Regions from separate parts of the Homo sapiens genome. Here region 1 is linked to region 2. Evidence: promoter capture Hi-C in human tissues and cell types (Jung and others, 2019). All regions are on one chromosome and are shown on one strand. Each heading gives the region's core, a stretch centred on a gene start or on the middle of the fragment in contact. The rest is flanking DNA. Distances are from core to core; before and after follow the strand shown.

The links. Contacts are between HindIII fragments. The study calls those that stand out against the background at their distance.
Region 1: a contact is called between a fragment that was not itself captured here and the fragment with the promoter of ZNF662 in region 2, in 1 of the 25 tissues and cell types used here (spleen).

The regions. Positions count from the first base shown.
Region 1 is chr3:44,184,810-44,188,300 of GRCh38, forward strand. No RefSeq gene overlaps it. Among named protein-coding and RNA genes, the nearest start is that of TOPAZ1, 55 kb to the right of the region's middle. The HindIII fragment of the contact is 3,523 bases long and covers 172-3,491 here.
Region 2 is chr3:42,904,291-42,907,633 of GRCh38, forward strand. ZNF662 (zinc finger protein 662) reads left to right here and starts at 1,852. Exons shown (of 5, transcript NM_207404.4): 1 at 1,852-1,878. The HindIII fragment of the contact is 13,922 bases long and covers 1-3,343 here.

The sequences.
Region 1 (3,491 bases), core at 683-3,182, 1.3 Mb after region 2:
CACTCGCAGGGTGTTCCTGCAAGCCACGTGAAAGCAGGCTCTTCATTTTGGTTTGCAAAACAGCCTCCAAAGCCAAATCTGCTCATACTGGAGCCATTCTAGACACAGGGATGTCACGAGGAGAAACTAGGAGGTACAGAAAGAACTGGGCAGAAGGAAATTTAGGGCTATGAGTCAAGAAAATGGGTTATACAATTGCCGGGTTGCCCTGAACAGCCAGAGAGAGATAGGGAAAGACTCCACTCCACGGAGAGAACTCCCAGAGGTCTTGCAATTCTCTAATGATCCTGGGCAGCTTCTGGGGCAAAGGTCATCCCTGGAGAATCCAGAAATTCTGTATTCTGGATGCCAAGGCCTAAACCTGGACTTGCTGACTATGACTTCAGGCATGCTGCTCAGCTTACTGAGTCTTCAGATCACAGGTTCTGCAAAAGGGTGACTGGGAAGCATGGGAAATCAAAGGTGGGCTTACATCTTCTCCTGCGAGTGTTCTCAAAAGTGAGCTTCAGGAGTCCCGTTCAGCCCCATAGTGCAGAATGGATTGGGAGACCTCATTTTGATGGAGCCCATGGAAATGCCAATCTCTTGGCAAACCAGAACCCGACCATTTCCTTTCACCTGCGCAGTCACACCCTAGCCTCCTGTGAACTCCCTGGTCTCATCTCCTACTACTTTCTCTCTTGTTTACTTTGCCCCCTCCTACACCCTTGCCCCAGGGCTTTTGTACTTGCTTCCCTAAATCAGATAAATATTGGAGAGTAAATTGAACTTCTAGCAGAAAATTTCTAGATGAAATTAGCTGACAGGGCCAATTGCTTTTTAATGCCCTTTCTAGTTTTTATTACGTAGATGACATGGTTTTCACTTCCTTCTCTTTGTATCCAGTTTAGCCCAATGTAAGGCAATCATTATATTGAAAGGGGCAGCATCCAGGACAATCAGCCTGTAAGAGGCAAGGTGACTACACAAGAAACTAGAGCAAGGGGCTCAGACTCAGGTCTAGCAGGTAGAAGAGCAAAGCAGGCAGGTGCAGACAGTGCCAAGCTGGAGACAGCGGGACCCACCTAAGGAAGGTGGCTGCTGCAGCACCAGCCAACTATTGTTCCATGGGAATGTGGGTCTGTTGTTCCTAGATATGACTTTTCAGTGCAAACCAGAAGCCCAAGTTTATGTGAAATGCCCGTTGTTAAATGCTGACAATGAATTCAAATTAAAAACAAGAAGTTTCATGGGTCAAACTATATCTTCAGGACAGATTCAGCAAATAGGCTGTCAATTTGTGATCTCTGAATTGATGCTGAGCAGGTTAAAGAGAATAAGCAATGAGGGAAAGGGAGTTCTATAAAATGCTGGATGAGGAATGATGATCTCTGGAGCTTGAGGTCAGGGAATAAAGGTGTCAGAAAGGAGACAAGTCTCAAGATCAAGAGAGGGACTGAAGCACATGACTCAGAGCTGCAGGCAGGTGTGTATATGCCTGCCAAACCTGGGGCCAGCACAGCAAAGGCGTGATGGTGAGACTCCAGGCAATGTGCAGTCCAGCCACCTGAAGGACAGAAAGCACACTGGCATGGCAGGATATTTCATCTTCTTTTCTTCCTGTGTTTTGGCCTTTCAAGAACGTAGGCAGTCCTGTGTTCATTGCCTCAAGACAGAAGTCACAGTAACCTAGGACTCTACAGGGCTTGTTTCTAAAGTTTAAATCCCCTGGGGTCAGGGTAGAATTCTCAAGAAAGACATTTTGGTCAGAAAAATGAAGGAAATAGCCTAAAAAGAGTTTTTCTGGGATGTGGAAGTAAAAACAAGCAAAGATGGCTGGGGGTCCCATGGTGGAGGCAACCTGTTTCCCATTTCCCAGGAAAAACCACCTGAGAAGCAGCCAGACCTCAGAAAGGAAAGGGCTGTGGAACATCCAGGCAGATGAGATACTACATGGCTGTGCTGATAAATTCCCAGCTACAGCCTGAAAGCAGAAGAAAGCCCCCAGGACACTAGATATCACAGTAGGAAAATGGGTTAACAAATGCTCATAGCCAGGGAGAGCCCTCCCAATACCTTGGCTCCCCCAAGAAAAAGGGAAGTTACAGTTTCCTAAAGCCCAGTGGCGGGAAGGCTCAAAATGAAAGCTGTTTCATTTTTATACACCTGGGTTTGTAGACTGAGATTCACACTGGCTACTTTAGAGAGCCACCAAAGATGAAGACAGGTCAACAGCAGTGTCTGAATTTGATTCTAAGCTCTTCTTCCAATGGCCACTGTGGATGGCAGTCTCTACGATGGTCCCCAACAATCCCCACCTCCTGGTATTCACACCCTTGCAAAATCCCCTCCCACACTGTACCAGGATTGGCCTGTGTCTGACAGCATATGGCAGAAGGGACTAGGTTATAAAAAGACTGGCTTCTGTCCCTCACTCTTTTTCTTGAATCAATTCCTCTGGGAGAAGCAAGCTTCCATGTAGTCAACAGCTCTGGATAGGCTCCAGTGGTAAAGAACCGAAGCCTCCAGACAACAACAAGTGAGGAGTTGAGGCCTGCAGTCCAACCGCCTGCAAGTAACTGAGGCCTAGCTAATGCCGAGGTGAGTGAACTCGGAAGCAGACTCCATTCTCACTTCAGGCTTTAGATGAGTACAGTGCCAGGTGACAGTGTGGCTGCAGGCTCATGAAAATCTCTGAGCCAGAGCCCAATGGCTAAGCCACTCCCAGATTCCTGACCCACAAAAGCTCTGTGAGATAATAAATGTTTGATGTTTTAAGCTGCTATGGGGTAATTTATAACATAGCAATAGAAAATGAATTCACCCCCACATCAACATATGAAGGCGATACTGAACCTAGTAAATTAAGAATTAGATGACTGGTCAGGAGCAAAGTACAGAAGCTTTGCCCTTTTTCTGTCAAATGATGCCACCAACCCTTTGCCGGAGGAACTGATTCAGGAGACAGGAGTCAAGTGAATAGTCAGAGGTGCTGAGCCACACTCCGTACTAGGCACTCCTAGGCATTACAGAACAAACTTTGCACAGAAATCATATGTCAGAAGAGGGAGTTCTGCCATCACAGCTTACAGCAGCTGAGAAGCTAAGAGTTCCCAGGTAATCTGGCAGCTTCAAGCCAAAGCCCTACCCACAGGCTGGGCAGCACAGGAATTTGAGTTGGGTGATGTAAGGTAAAAGCTAATCTTCAAAACTAGCAAACCTTTGCAAGCTACTTCTTTCCTCACTCTTTTTCCCCCCACAGAAGGGGAACATTTGCTGTTTTTTTTAGAGCCTAGAGCCTTAGCATCTGCCCCCTTGTCATTTAAGAATTGAGTATCTTGGTGCTGATTTTCAAAGTAGCTGTTAATCACTTAGCTCCACATTCACTATGAGGACAAGCCAGAAATCATTATAAACTGGAGTGTTGGGTTAACCCAAAGTGCTTCATCTCTACCTACCTACCATTGTTATCTGTGGTCTACAAAAGCTATGGGTGTAACCCAGAGACCCTA
Region 2 (3,343 bases), core at 602-3,101:
TCTCTCTCTCTTTCCCTCCTTCCCTTCCTTCCTTCGTCTCTTCTTTCTTTCCCTCTCTCCCTCCCACTCTTTCTTTCTTTCCCTCCCTCCTTTCCTTCCTTCCTCTTTCCTTCTCTTCTCTTTTCTCTTCTTCTCTTTCTTCTTTCCAGGTTCTTGCTGGAGTGCAATGGTGCAATCACAGCTCACTGCAGCCTTGACTTCTCAGGCTCAAGTGATCCTCCCATCTCAGACTTCTGAGTAGCCAGGAGCTGGCTATTTTTCTTTATTTCTTTCTTTCTTTCTTTTTTTATTTTTGTAGAGATGGGGTAGCAATTTGATTAAAAACTATCAGATTCCCTACTTTTTCCCATACTACTTCCAACTTAGGACCAAACAGAGAAAGCCAAAAATTTCCCCCTACCAATTACATAAGATTCCCTGCTTCTAGTTAGCCCGCCTGTAGTTTCCCCATGCCAGCAACTTCCAATAAGGGAATACCTGAAGCCATTCCTTTTTTCCACTGTGAAGCTTTCCCCACTCTTCTGCCTGACTTTCAGTCTGCTGAATGCAAGTGATGAGGGCTGACTCTCTTGTCATATATAGCAAGCTCTGAATAATAGTCTTTGTTCTCATTTGAATAATCTTTATTTTCACACTTCTTAAAAAATTTAATTTCCTGGCATGTTGCATAATGTTAGGTAAGCCATTTTCTCTCTTTGGGCCTTACTTTCTTCAACTGAAAAACTGGTTCAACATTTATTCATTCTTTTATTCCGTAAGCCAAAAATAAAATTCAAAGCCCTCTGACCATATGAATGGATCTCTCCTCTTGGCTAAGGGCATTCCAAAGTTAACGTGAAAAACTGGTTCAGGCCATAATGGGAAGGAGGAGTTGGACATGGCTCATTATGCTCCCCTACCTTTTGAAATTCAGGACCAGCTGACCAGCATTAACATCAACACAGACCTTAAGACTGATAGAACAGCCTCTTTAAGTCTCACAGACTATCCGGTAGTGTGATAATGATGAGAAACATTTGCAGTCTATTCTCTGAAGCCTGCTACAGGCTCCATCTGCATGATAAAACTTTGGTCTCCACAAGCCCTTATCTTAACTGAGACATCCCTTTCTATTGATTCTAAGTCTTTATACAATAACTTAACTCTTTCAACCAATTGCCACTCAGAAAATCTTTGAATCCACCTATGTCCTGAAAGCCTCCTCTTCCAGTTGTCCCACCTTTCCATACCGAACCAACGTACATCTTACATGTATTAATTGATGTCTTATGTCTTCCTAAAATGTGTAAAACCAAGTTGTAGCCCGACCACGTTGGGCACATGTTCTCAGGATCTCCTGGGGCTGTGGCACGGGCCATGGTCACTCATATTTGGCTCAGGATAAATCCCTTCAAATATTTTACAGTTTGACTTTTCGTGGACAATTCTACAAATATTCCTTGGCAGTTAAAGAAATAACTCCCCAGGAGGTGCTAGACATCGGGCGCATGTTAGAGGCACAAAGATGAGAATGTTAAAAGACATAAAATACAGGTCTGCTCTGGGAATGCAAAAACTGGTAAAAGGAGAGATAAAAGAGCAGGTGCAGTCTAGTGAAGTACCCGCTACCTCCTATCAGCAAATATCTGTCCACCTAGGGTGCAGCGAGCTGGAGAGGAAGGGGTGGCCTAGAGCGCAGGGGAAGGATTCCTCCCCAGCCGCCTGCACCCCTACCCCGGTAGCGGTCCCTGGGATCGTCCGTGTCTCCAGGAGAACCGGACCGCTCTCCCCTCCCTCCCCGAGCGAGAAAGGAGGACCACAGAGATGCGGCGCCCTCCGCCGTCCTAGAGCAACCGGAGCGGCCCGAGCCCCGGCCTCCCGGATGCTGGGGCCTGGCGGGTGTGGAGCACGGGGAGTCGGGCGTGGGGCGGGCAGGGAGTGGAGTCGGGGTCTTACTCCGGTGGCTGCAGGGCGCAGGGTAGCCGTGTCAGGCCTGCCCAGGTGCAGAGCGCTCTTCCGCGACCCCAACAGCCTCTGGTCCGGTCTGGCGCGCCCTCGCTTTCCCAGAGGGCGACCTGGGCTATGGCGGCCGTGGCGCTGGCGAGCGGGACACGCCTCGGCCTTGTCCTCGAGCTGCTCCCGGGACAGCCCGCGCTGCCCCGGGCGCGCCGGGTGAGTGCGGGGCCGGAGCCTGGAAGCAGTCTTGGCCCTGCCCTGGGTTCTAGGCCCGGAGACGGGGTGGTGCGGCGGCTGGGAAATGGGGGTACAACCCAGAGTGAGGGGCCTCGAGGGACAGGCAGCACAGCGGAGTCGACACCCCTGGACCTGAGCCTCAAGGAGAGCAGACGTGCAGCGGCACGGGGTTGAGCCGACTGCTGGGGCAGAGCGCACAGAGTGCTGTCGGGGGCGATGAATGGCCAGAATTTCAGAGCTGCCTTTACAGAGCTGGTTATGTTTGAGCTGGGTATTAGGTTGAAAAGGAATTTGCAATGCAGGAGCAGGAAGGAAGAACTGGATATTCAGGCAAGAGTAGCCGCAGGTGCAAGGACACAGAACAGGGTGAGGAAAGAGTTTGGTTTCCCAATGCAATGGTGAGAGGATCGGAGATGAGAGTGGTGGTGGCTGATGATCCTGGCCAGGAAAGCTGGGTCTGTGAGTAGTGAATGGAATTGTCTGTAGTGCAGAGGAATGTGGACTCTATTAGGCAGACAAAGTTGAGCCAGCCAAAGCCTTGGAGCCCTGGAGTGCTGGATAAATAGCTGTGGAGACTTTCTAGTGCGCAAGGACTGAAGTGCAGTGGACCAGAATGGGCTCCTCCACAGTGTGGAGACTGAGACCCTGAAGGAGGCAGTGGCTGAGAATTACGGGAAGTCCCAACGGCTGGAGGTCAGCAGTATTTGTTTCTTAAGAGGATGAGAGAAAGAAGGTGCAGGAGCTGAGACTCCTAGAGATATAGAAAATGGGGACATGGAGATTGGGACGTGGGTAAGCAAGTGAGGTGGGATCTTTGTGAGAGTGTTGCGGGTGGTGGGGGTGCAGGGAGTAAAGTCACAACGAGGATCTGCCCTGTTGAGTACAGTGTTCAGAGCAACCTGAATGTTCTGAGGAGCCCTAGCTGCCTCTGTGGCTGGTGGCAGTGACTGGGGAGGACAAAGGAGGAAGAGTCCTATACAGGGGCAGCAGGGATGGCAGGAATGGGGACGGAAGGCAGTGTGGCATAACAGGCAAGAGCCAGAGTCAAACAGGCCTGGGTTCTGTCTCAGTTCTGGAACTTTGGGGGAAGTTAATCCCTCCGAGTCTCAGTTTCCTCTTCTAAAAAACGGATCTGATAGTAGGCTATGAGACATAACAAAGAATATATGTC